Linked DNA regions of Homo sapiens: region 2 is linked to region 1. Evidence: promoter capture Hi-C in human tissues and cell types (Jung and others, 2019). All regions are on one chromosome and are shown on one strand. The core of a region is centred on a gene start or on the middle of the fragment in contact, and the rest is flanking DNA. Distances in the headings are between cores, read along the strand shown.

What was found. Contacts are between HindIII fragments. The study calls those that stand out against the background at their distance.
Region 2: a fragment that was not itself captured here is called in contact with the fragment with the promoter of SIDT2 in region 1 in 2 of the 25 tissues and cell types used here (hippocampus and pancreas).

Annotation. Positions count from the first base shown.
Region 1 is chr11:117,176,036-117,182,283 of GRCh38, forward strand. SIDT2 (SID1 transmembrane family member 2) reads left to right here and starts at 2,708. Exons shown (of 26, transcript NM_001040455.2): 1 at 2,708-3,411; 2 at 5,381-5,502; 3 at 5,772-5,936; 4 at 6,025-6,070. The coding sequence starts at 3,229. It also overlaps a transcript of PAFAH1B2 not described here. RefSeq lists silencers at 2,807-3,016, 5,624-5,683 and enhancers at 3,997-4,066, 5,094-5,153, 5,390-6,185. The HindIII fragment of the contact is 11,732 bases long and covers 2,376-6,248 here.
Region 2 is chr11:116,960,094-116,966,341 of GRCh38, forward strand. The region is part of intron 1 of SIK3 (SIK family kinase 3); the gene reads right to left. Among named protein-coding and RNA genes, the nearest start is that of APOA1, 130 kb to the left of the region's middle. RefSeq lists a silencer at 4,307-4,507. The HindIII fragment of the contact is 8,386 bases long and covers 1-6,248 here.

The DNA.
Region 1 (6,248 bases), core at 1,458-3,957:
CCATCCTGAGGATTCTCTGATTCATATTCGCCTAGATGTGCTGGAAACAGTACTGGACCAAGGTGCAAACTTGAGTCTAGTGAGGTACTAATGGGCTGAAGTTTTTCTGAGCGTCACTTTCCTCATCTGTATAATGAGGGGTTGGCCAAGGAAACCCATAAGGTTATCTTCCAGCTGACTTTCTAATTGGTGAACCCTTTGGAAAAGGGGTGCAGCTTGCTTCTGGTCTTCATCCTCAAGTATGCTGTGCTTGGACAGGGGCCAAAACTAATTCCTCCACTCACCATTTGCCCAGCATAACTACAACAGTACCTGGCACATCGTGGATGCTTATTAAATATTTATTGCAGGAATGAGTAAATATAACTAACTGATCATAAGGTAAAATAGTCTTCATTGGAACAAGGCTCCAGATAGTTGGGCAGGGCTGGGAGCTGAGACTGCTGCAATCCTGCCAGCTGAGAGAACTCTGACAAGGCACTGATCTGGGTGGCTTTATTAGGATGTCTGACAGCTTCAGAGGTGGCCACATTTCTTTTCCTTTAAACATGTCTAATTTGGCCGGGCGCAGTGGCTCACGCCTGTAATCCCAACACTTTGGGAAGCCTAGGTGGGTGGATCACTCGAGGTCAGGAGTTCGAGATCAGCCTGACCAATATGGTGAAACCCCGCTTTACTAAAAATACAAGAAATTAGCAGGGTGTGGTGGCGGGTGCCTGTAGTCCCAGCTACTTGGGAGGCTGAGGCAGGAGCATCGCCTGAACTCAGGAGGCGGAGATTGCAGTGAGCTGAGATCACACCACTGTACTCCAGCATGGGTGACAGTGAGACTCCATCTCAAAAAAAAAAAAAAAAAAAAGTCTAATTTGTCTTATAAATGCAATATATGTGGCCAGGCATGGTGGCTCATGCCTATAATCCCAGCACTTTGGGAGACTGAGGTGGGTGGATCACCTGAGGTCAGGAGTTCGAGACCAGCCTGACCAATATGGTGAAACCCCGTCTCTACCAAAAATACAAAAATTAGCTGGGCGTGGTGGCACATGGCCTGTAATCCCAGCTACTCGGGAGACTGAGGCAGGAGAATTGCTTGAACCCAGGAGGCAGAGGTTGCAATGAGCTGAGATTGTGCCACTGCACTCCAACCTGGGCAACAGAGCGAGACCCTGTCTCCACCCCCCGGCAGATAAAAAAGCAATATATAAATATATATACATTGTAGAACATTTGTAAATCTTTTTAAATATAAAAAATAAAATTTAAGAACCACTCACAATCCATTATTTTTTATTTTTTGGTACTACTCTATATTTTTAGAATTAAAGGAAAATGATATACAATATGTGTTATTTTTAAAATTGTAATTCAAAGATAACTACTGCTAAATTTTATTTTTAAAATTTGCCCTGCTTTCTGGAGACATTGCTAAATGTTTAGTACAATTTTTTTCTATTTTTCTATGCATGTCTATATGCATTTGGAATATATACGGTTTTATTTACTTATTTATTTTTGAGACAGAGTCTTGCTCTGTTGCAGCCCAGGCTGGAGTGCAGGAGCATGATCTCAGCTCACTGCAACCTCCGCCTGGTAGAGTTAAGCGATTCTCCTGCTTCAGCCTCCCCAGTAGCTGGGATTACAGGCACGCGTCACCACGCCCCACTAATTTTGTATTTTTATAGTAGAGATGGGGTTCACCATGTTGGCCATGGCTGGTCTCGAACTCCTGACCTCAAGTGATCTACCTGTCTTGGCCTCCCAAAGTGTTGGGATTACACGTGTGAGCCACGGCACCTGGCTCTATATACTGTTTATTTAGTGTCATATCCTGAATTCTCTGCTTACGTGTCCTGTGAAGTCTTAAGCATCATTTTTGATGCCTTCATGATAGTGCATTTAACCAATCCCTCATTATGGATATCCAAGTCATTTCCTTTTTGCTTTATATTATAAATATCACAGTGATAAGCGTAGCTGCCCAGGTATTTTTATCTGTGCTTCCTATTTCCTTAGGATAGAGTCCAGAAGTGGAATTACTGGATCAAAGGGTATAAAGCTCTCTAAGTTTCTTGAAACAGTGCCAAAATATTTTGTAGAAAAGTTTTCACCAATTTACACTGAAGGTCAGTATCTTTCAATGAGTTTTGTAACTGTCTCTGAGAGAAGAGGGGAAACAGCCCGGCAAGCTTGGAAAGCTCGGAAGGCCGTCCCTGCAGTTGTGTGGCCCCTCTAGAGGGAGGTGGGAAAGGCATGGGGATTCCTCCTGCAGTGCTGCCTCCGTTTCCCCTCCGCCGGTAGGGCCACCGTCCTGTTTCCTAATCCTTCGAGTTTTTCATTTTTTAAGATCCCCGGAGAAAAAGTGGCCCAGGGTTGGACGATGTTAGTTGTAAAGGTGGTGGTGGGGGTGGGGGAATCCTTATGTTTGAGCAAATGTAAGAGTTGTTCAGCAAGAACCCAACACTTGGAGATTGTTAACAGAAACATCTGCCTATTCCAACGTGAGTTTCAGAGATGGTGAAAATCACGGGAGAGAGTTGGGTAGGAGTTGGAGAAGGCATTGCAAGCTTTCCCCTTCAGCTAGACAGCTGCAGCCCCTTTAAGGGCAAATGCGGGACCTGGTCCTTTAAATCTGTGTCAGTTTCCCCTGACGTCAGCGGGCGGGCCAGCAGCCCTGCTGTTTATCGCCCAGCGGCGCAGCTCACTTTTCAGTGTTCGTGCGTCGGGACGGCGCGTCCGCCCGCCCTTAAAGGGCCCGCACCTCGGAAAACTCGCAGCCCAGCACGGCGTCGGGTAGCTACCACCTATCACGCCCCTCACTCTGCGACTCGCCTTCCTCCGCGGCCAGCCCCCGCCGCCGGCTCTTCCTCCCTCCCCTTTCCCGGCGTCTCCAGGCTCCCGGCAACCAGCCGCCCTCCTTCTCACGGCCCTGGCCCGGGGCTCCAGGGTCTCAGGTCGTACTCAGCCCCTCGCGAGCTGGGACCCCTTCCCGTAGCCAGCATCCCCTCCCTCCCCGCCCCCTCCCGGCCGCCCCCTCCCCTGCGGGGACCCTGGGAGCCTCTTCGGGGCTCTTGGGAGGGGACATTTCCTAATCTCAGGCCGGGGTTAAAGTTCTGGTCCTGGTGAGATGCTGGAAGCTGCGGCCGCAGCCGCAACCCGTCCCGGAGGTGTCCTGTCTCCTGTCGCCGCCGCCGCCGCCACCACCGCTGCCACTGCCGCCCTGCCGGGGCCATGTTCGCTCTGGGCTTGCCCTTCTTGGTGCTCTTGGTGGCCTCGGTCGAGAGCCATCTGGGGGTTCTGGGGCCCAAGAACGTCTCGCAGAAAGACGCCGAGTTTGAGCGCACCTACGTGGACGAGGTCAACAGCGAGCTGGTCAACATCTACACCTTCAACCATACTGTGACCCGCAACAGGGTGAGGGCTGGGGGCTTAGGGGCCAGAGGCGAGTGGGGAAGCCGACGAGGGCTAGGCGATTCTGCCGCCCCGCTACCCTTTTGGGAGGCCCCAGGAACGAGCTGTCCTGCTAGGTTCCCAGTTCCCAGAACCACACTGGAGCCTCTTGACCAGTCCTCCTTCCTTTGCCACCAATGTTTCTCTGAAGCTCCAGCTGGGCAGTTTTTGAAGTTGGCTCATTCCCATCTTCTCTTCCGCCCCCATTCTTCCATCAGTTGTGGTCTGAGCACACATGGCTTGCTCTCTACCCTAAACCCCAGAATCTGACAGCTCTGTGGGGTCTCGGTGGGAGAGGAAACAGGCTTATTACTGGGCTTGCCCAGAAAACCTCAGGGGAATGAGACTGGCCCAGAACTGAAAAGCTCTGTGCAGGCAAGTTACATCTCAGACTCCCCAGGGAGATGAATGCAGGGCTTCCCAGCCCTCTTCCTGCCTGGGAGAGCCAGCTGGCCTTGTAAATTGAGGGTGACAGAGGTTTTATAAGGCCAACTGCAAGTTGGGTGGGAAGAGAAGGGGAATTTGTCCACTGTGAAAAATCCACTTCACCCTGACTTCTCTTTGGTTTCTTCACCAGCTGTGAGTCCCTGAGTTGAAATAGACACAGCTAGTGTGGGAAGTCTAGACCCCAGGCAGAGCTGAGATTGGGAGAATTCTTGCAACCTGGCTGTGTGGTCTCGTGCCCGGGTCTCTTGCTCTCTCTCCATGACTGCCGTTTACTGAGAAGCAATGGAGTTGAGAATGGGGAATCTGATTTTTTTTCAGAACGGGGAGTGGTTTGGTTTCTGTGGCAGGCCAGGATCTGCCCCCAGTGCCTGGTTCTCTGAAGTTTGATCTCTTTCTGCTTAGAGTCCTTTCTTCCTTTTTTCCCATATCTAAAGGCACTGGAGAGCTGTGGTTTTTACTCTTTTGGGAAATGCTGCCCTAGGGCTTGGGTTTCAGCAGCCCAATAACAAGCATTCCAAGATCGATTTGGTTTTATTTTTCCTTTAAGCTCCCATTGTTTATATATGTTCCTTCATAGCTCCAAGGGTGAAGATCACTTTATCTTTTTTTTTTTTTTTTTTTTTTTGAGACCAGTCTCACTCTGTTGCCCAGGCTGAAGTGCAGTTTTGTGATCTCAGCTCACTGCAACCTCCGCCTTCCCGGTTCAAGCGATTCTCCTGCCTCAGCCTCCCAAGTAGTTGAGATTACAGGCGCCTGCCACCATACCCAGCTAATTTTTGTATTTTTAGTAGAGATGGGGCTTCACCATGTTGGCCAGGCTGGTCTCAAACTCCTGACCTCAGATGATCCTCCTGCCTTGGCCTCCCAAAGTGCTACAAGCGTGAGTCACCGCACCCGGCTGTCATTTTATAGAGGGAGAAGTTGAGGCTTAGAGAAGTAAAGTGACTTCTCCACAGCCCTGTCCCTTGGTGGGAGCTAAGGATACAACATGGCCTTCAATACCTACCCCTCCTCAACTCCTCTGGGCTCTGGCCCCAGGTTAGCTGTTAACTAGAGCTTCCTGCTGGCTTCCTGGCTCACAGGAAGGTTGAGGAGCACTTCTTGTTCTCCTGTGTCTTCGTGTGTGGGGGCGTGTGTACACGTTTGTGTGTGCAGGCCTGTGCATCCTGTGCACATGGATAGGAATGGGGTATCCTGGAGACTCGCAAGGCCTCCACCGTGTTTCCTGGCAGAGGGTGAGACCCTGCGGTTGCTTGGGTCCTGCTGCCCTGCACATGTCTGCCGGCCAGGAGCTGCACTCAGCACAGGTCTTTCCTGGAGTCTGGGGGTTGTTCTGGCAGAAGAAGAGGCAGAGATGACTCCCTGGCCCGACCAAGATGGAGAAAGACCAAAGTAGCTGGCATGAAGGAGGGCAGGGCTCATAGTCTCTGGAGCCACGTGTCCCTGGTGGCAGAGGCTTGAGAGGCATTTCCATGTCGTTCTGCAGACAGAGGGCGTGCGTGTGTCTGTGAACGTCCTGAACAAGCAGAAGGGGGCGCCGTTGCTGTTTGTGGTCCGCCAGAAGGAGGCTGTGGTGTCCTTCCAGGTGCCCCTAATCCTGCGAGGGATGTGAGTAGGATCTGGGCATCAGGGAAGCGGGGCAGCCTAGGCCAGTCCTTGGCTGGAGCCTCAACCAGGAGCCCCCCCATTTCTCCTCCCCTTTCCCTGGGCTGGGAGGCTGGTCAACAGCACAAGGGCCGAGTCCCACCAGCCGGGAGCTTGTGCACCTCGCAGGGAGGTGGTGGAGACCAGACGGGGCGAGGTGGGGCCTCGCTCCTCTGGAGGGGCAGGCCGGCTGGGACAGTGCTCACATCCTATCTCCCTGCTTCGGGCCATAGGTTTCAGCGCAAGTACCTCTACCAAAAAGTGGAACGAACCCTGTGTCAGCCCCCCACCAAGAATGAGTCGGAGATTCAGTTCTTCTACGTGGATGTGTCCACCCTGTCACCAGTCAACACCACATACCAGCTCCGGGTCAGCCGCATGGACGATTTTGTGCTCAGGTCTGCAGGGTAGAGTGAGGGGACCACGGGGGCTGGTTCTTCCCCAGGCTCCGGGGGTGACTGGTGGGGGCTCTTCTCTGCCCTGCAGGACTGGGGAGCAGTTCAGCTTCAATACCACAGCAGCACAGCCCCAGGTAACATCTCCCTGTTGATTGCTCGAGAGGAGAAATGGGGGAGCTTGAATATGAGAATGGGAGTGGCCAGCGGTCTTTGCTTGGCCTTTTGAATTGGCTGTTTTCTCCATGGAGGGCTCTCTGGAAACAGGAGCTCTGGCCCTGACATGGTGAGGGACAGACAGCATGGGACTGTACA
Region 2 (6,248 bases), core at 2,482-4,981, 210 kb before region 1:
GTACTTCATCTTTTCAGGAAAAATTGCATTGAATATAATCTGTTCTTAGAAGGCACGTACAAAGAAGTTTTAATAGATTAAAACATCAAACTCCTGTCTACTCTTCAGTGAGAGTTCAGATTCCAGAAGACATTGAAAAGTGAAGCTTTGGGCCAGGCACGGTGGTTCACGCCTGTAATTCCAGCACTTTGGGAGTTAAAGGCAGGCGGATGGCTTGAGGCGAGGAGTTCAAGACCAGCCTGGGCAACAAAGTGAGACCTCATCTCTACAAAAAATAAAAAAATTAGCCAGGTGTGGTAGTGTGTGCCTGTAGTCCCAGTTACTCAGGAAGCTGAGACAGAAGGATTGCATGAGCCTAGCAAGGGTGAAGTGAGCCGTGATCACGCCACTGCATTGCAATCTGTGCAACAGAATGAGACACTTTCTCCAAAACAAAAAAACAAAACAAAACAAAAAAACCAAAGTGAAGCTTTATTTAGCAGTTGAATATAGTACTGAAAGCAAGGACTCTGAAGACAAGCTACTTAGATTCAAAATCTTGGAACTATCCCTTAATATATAACCTAGAACAGGTTACTTAATTTTCCAATGGCTCCCTATCTGTAAAATGTGGGCAACAATGGAACCTACTTTAAAGTGATTTTGGGGATTAACAAAGCTAATACATGCAACCTGATTAATATAATGCCTGGCACAGTAAACAGGCAATATATGTTAATTACAGGTAGTGCTGTTGTTATTTTATTTTCTTCTGGAATCAAGCCTTCAACTTTAGGCATTCCTTGGCAAGGATTAGATTTGCTTCACTAAGCAACATAATCCTGGATCTGAAACACATCAATTCCTTATTCAAGGGACAAATTGAGGGACCAAGAAGCAAAATAGCTAACAATTTGTGGGCAGCATTCAGAACCAACTGGCTGCCGCCAGCTGATGTGGGAAGAACATGGAAAGAACAGAGCTGGAAAAAAAATAAACGCATTCCATTCAGGAAAGTCACAGTGAGCCATAGGATGGAACCCACAGCAAGACCCGACCCTGAGGGCTGTGGCAGAGAGACACTGGTCTACTTCTTCACAGCAGGCCAGGCTCCCCTTGCCAACCCTACCTACTAGCTAACACCTGAGAGGAGAGAACTTACTGTTGCTTGGCAATGGCATAACTGCCTGATAAGACCACTTAACAGGGAAAGGAACTCAGCTCCTACCTTAGCTGCAAACTGGAAAGTGGGAGTTTTCTAAAAAGCAGAAAAATAAAGTTGGAACAGAGAAACTGCCAAGTCAGACAGCAGGTGGCTGGCACACAGGTATGATTGTTTTGAGAATATCTAAACAGATAAATGAGTATGAGTTTCACAGCTACAGATTACTGAAGACTATATAATAAAGGTTTTGGTGTAAAGTACACACCAGTTGCTTGAAAAACTGAATGTGTCCACAACAAAGGTAAATCAGTAGGTAAAGAAAAGATAAACTCTCAAAGAATGTTATTATATTGGGGTTGAAAATCTATAAATCTCCTAATTGTACTTACATATGAAAATTATAACAAAGCAGAAAACTTCCAACATGTTACCAAGAGACCATATATTTCCTAAGTTTGCCTGTTCTACACAGAATTCTTTTATCTTCCAAAGAGCATGATTTTGTAAATTGACATTCTAATATTAATTAAACATGACACTGTATCAAGTATGCTACTAAAGAGATAACAGATTGTGAGAGTCCTTAATTTCCCTACTCAAGACATTCCCATTCAACAAATTCTTCTGTTTCAATTGGCATGTGGTAGGAAAAAAATTAAATTTAGATCATGCCAAATTTAAAGTCATAGTTCTTTATTATTCATTCTATGAGAGGAAAAATTACTATTTCTCCCTTTTAATTCTCACTTCTAAAAAACACAGTTCTTTTTAACTCAACTCACTTTTGTAAGCACAATAATGTTCATAGTGAATGAAGCTGAAAAAAATAGTGGTTTCTTCACAACAGGCAATAAATTCACTTGCATATTCTGACACCATATTTGTAAGCAAGATACGGCAACAGAGTAAAAGACAATGAACTAAGGGACAGTTCAGCATTAAGATCAAAACAAACCACCCTTCCCCATCAGAAATAAATGCCCTATAGCAGATAGTACGGATTCAGGGATATGCCAGGACAAATGGACAGTTCAAGAAAGAACTACGTAGGAGGGAAATGCAAAGATCACAAGGGCTCAAATTCTTCCAAGACGAGAAAGAGGATCTCCTTACACTGGTATGCAGATGAACATACAGTAATTTCAAAGAATATAGTGAGCAGACTGCATGCTTTTTAGAAGGAAAGAGAAAACATTACAGTTTGAAGAAAAGCTTATTTTTTTAAAAAATTTGTTTTAAGGAAAGAGCTCTATTTCTTTTAGAAATGTCTTTAGAATTTAGGCAGATATCAAACATTTTGTCATTGTAAGCTTTTTTCAATGGGGTTATGTTTTTATACTAACTTCTGTAGCAAAATTTTTATTCTCTATTTTTATGACAAAGCTTATCTACTCTAGAACATTCTCGGCTCAGCTCTACAACTATTTTATGATCTAGATCTGTACAGTGTAATACAGTAGGCACCAGCCACGTGTAACTATCCAGACTGATGCGCTATAAATGTAAAATATATACCAGATTTCAAAGATAGTAATATAAAAAAGAATTAAACTATCTCCCTGATACATTTTTATATTGATTACATGTGGAAATTATAATATTTTAGATATATTAGGCTAAACAAAAGATATTAAAACTAATTTCACCACTTTTTACTTTTTTAATATGATTATTTAAAAATTGTAAATAATATATGTGCCCTCTTTCTCTTGGACGGCACTGATCCACATAATGCCAACAGGCTACATAATTAATCTACCAGTTAAAGGACGTATTCCTTGAAAATGACTTCTGAAATCATTGACTTGATATTGAGAATTGCCAACTGTCTATCTCACAGAAACCTGGCCCAAGTTACAAGGCTCTCAATGCTCAAACATTGCCTTGGGAGAAAATCTCAAATAAGGTCTCAAAAGTTATATTCTAGGAGCTCAATTTAATTCAATTTTTAAAATGTCTATTGAGCAACTGACTGGTTTACTGTACTGCCCTTGTGTGCAGCCATTCCCAGGAGGGGTTCTCTCAGAGAATTAAGTCTTACAGCCTTAAGACAGCAGTTCCCAAACTGTTTGGTCTCAGGACTCCTTCTCTTAAAAGTTAGGAGAAACTTCAAAGAAGTTTTGATTATGTGAGTAATATCTTTCAATATTTGCTTAGAAATCAAATTAAAAATCAGAAATTAAGACAAAAATTTAAAAGACACGTGTATACAACCACACATCTCCTTGGTCATCAGAGCAATTGCAGCATCATACATAGCATAGTCTCTGGAAATCTCTATTTTATAATTGTGAGAGACTATGAATGAAAAGTGAAAATAATGTTGTGGCATTTCTTTAAAAATGGTTTTGACCTAGGGGACCCACTGAAACAGTATTGGAGTCTATGACATCCCTGAATCAAACTCTGAGAACAACTGCCCTTAAAGCATCACTGTATGTAATGAATTGACTTCTCTTCAATGCATCTAGAATAGTACCATGTTTGGGAGAACTGAGAAAATAGTCACTCAATTTTCTTTTCTATAGGGCATAATGCTTTCACAGGACCCAGCTAAGAATGGCTGGCTAGAAAGGAACTTAAGTACCTTTGGAATCAGCCTTAATGAAAAAACATTTTTATTTAAAATTTACTAGAAAATAGAATTGTCAACAGAAAACAAATTTAAAAGAACCCCAAACCAACACAAGCTAGGCTCTTGAATGCAACCTGTTACACATTAAATGGCCATGATTAATAACGTGCCACATGACCAAGGTCAGGATGTAGGCTGGCCACATTCTTGGGAAGATCCTAACGTCTGCACTGTTACCCAGGCTGGAGTGCAGTGACACGACCATAGCTCGCTGCAGCCTCAACCTTCTGGGCTGAAGCCATTCTCTCACCTCAGCCTTCTGAGTAGCTGGGACTACAGGGACACACCACCACACCTGGATAATATATATTTTTTAATTTTCTGTAGCAACAGGGTCTCACTATGTTGCCCAGGCTGGTCTCAATGGATCCTCCCACCTCAGTCTCCTAAAGTGCTGGGGTTACACGCAACAGCCACCACACCTGGCTTCCAATTTTTTAATTGAAGTCTATATTTCAGCTTGAAACAATTAGTCAAATCAAGTACTAAGGGGCAAAACAGGGATGTATATTTGGAAAGAACAGGTTATTCTATTCATTATACACACCAATCACAACTGTTTCTGGGAAAATATGCAGCTGTCAAGCCTAAGGAATGGCTGGGATGCAAGGATGCTAGCCAACTCGAGACACAAGGACTCTACATGGCCAGCAAAGATAAGGGTCAGGCAGCTTTCAATAAACTCCACAGAAAGTGGTTAACAACTATAATTTAAAATGTATAGCACTCCAGGCACGGTGGCTCATGCCTCTAATCCCAGCACTTTGGGAGGCCGAGGTAGGCAGATCACTTGAGGTCAGGAGCTCGAGACCAGCCTGGCCAACATGGTGAAACCCCACCTCTACTAAAAATACAAAAATTAGCCAGGTGTGGTGGTGGGCACCTGTAATCCCAGCTACTTGGGAGGCTGAGGCAGGGAGAATCGCTTGAACCCAGGAGGCGGAGGTTGCAGTGAGCCGAGATGGCGCCGCTGCACTCCAGCCAGGGCAACAAGAGCGAAACTCCATCTCAAAAATAATAATAATAATAATAATAAAATACAATAAAATGTATAGTGCTTTTTAGGTGAGTGGTTGAACTTTTATTTTTCTGCCCTCTAGGCTGTACTGAATGGTGACTGTAAAATAGTTCATGCATTTCCAATGTCTGGATAGAGAACAGAAAGTTTACTGAAAGTGGGAAAATAAGTTGGAAAATGGTATACTGTGCAAAATTAGTAAATGGTATCTGAAGCAAAGGAAATTTTCTGTGATTACTTGAAATTCAAGATATAGAAGAGAAATTTTTAAAGACAAAAAGAAAATGATTTCTCAGTTCCAGTAATTCCCATCTGGTTGACATTTACCCTCTCAGAAAACAGAAGCCTACGAGTGTCTCCAATATTATGAGCAACTCTCTCAGGCATACTGACATGATTGTTATTGTTGCAAAGTGCCAACAATGTTTTATAGTTAAATCAACTCTTGTCCTACAGGTTTATCACTTAAATGTATTCAACAATTTTTTTTTTTTAAAAAAAAGGAGTGGAGGAAAAGAGAGTTGACAATAAAAATAAAGGTCAATCAGGATTATTTACAAAATATAGATATTCAATTTTCTATTTTCAGGTGTTTATTTCAGATTAAACAAATTGCAGAAGTTTAAGAGGGAGATACTTAGAATGGGATTGATGGCTTAATTTTAAGGTTAAGGAGCTGTTGAAAAGGATGCCTCAAAGCCCTAAAAAAAAGAGAGGGAAGAGGCCAGGTGCAGGGCTCACACCTGTAATCCTAGCACTTTGGGAGGCTGAGGCGGGCAGATCACTTGAAGTCAGGAGTTCAAGACCAGCCTCTCTAACATGGTGAAAACCCGTCTCTGCTAAAATATATATATATATATATATATATATATATATATATATATATATATATAAATTAGCCAAACATGGTGGTGTATGCCTGTAGTCCCAGCTACTTGGGAGACTAAGGCAGGAGAATCGCCTGAACCTGGGAGGTGGAGGTTGCAGTGAGCCGAGATGACACCACTACATGCCAGCCTGGGTGACAGAGCAAGACTCCGTCTCAAAAAAAAAAAGAGGGAAGAGCAGGAAAGAAGGAGGACAGAAAGAGAATGTAGGACAAACAGGAAACACTCTGAATAGAGAGAAAGGATTGGGCAGAAAAGTATTAGGGATCTGGGGAAGAAAAGGGCAAAAGCTAAATGGTTTAACAAGGCAGTTCTAATAGTTCAAAATGGCAACCAAAGAACACTGTCTAAGAAAGTGGCATAATGACAAAATAGGCCGGCCTGGTGGCTCATGCTGTAATCCCAGGAGTTCGAGACCGGCCTGGGCAACACAGCAAGACCCCCAACTCTACAAAAAATTTTTTAAAAATTATCCAGCCATGATGGCATATGCCTGTAGTCCTAGTACTCAGGAGACTGAGGTGGGAAGATCATTTGAGTCCAAGAGCTCAAGGCTATAGTGGG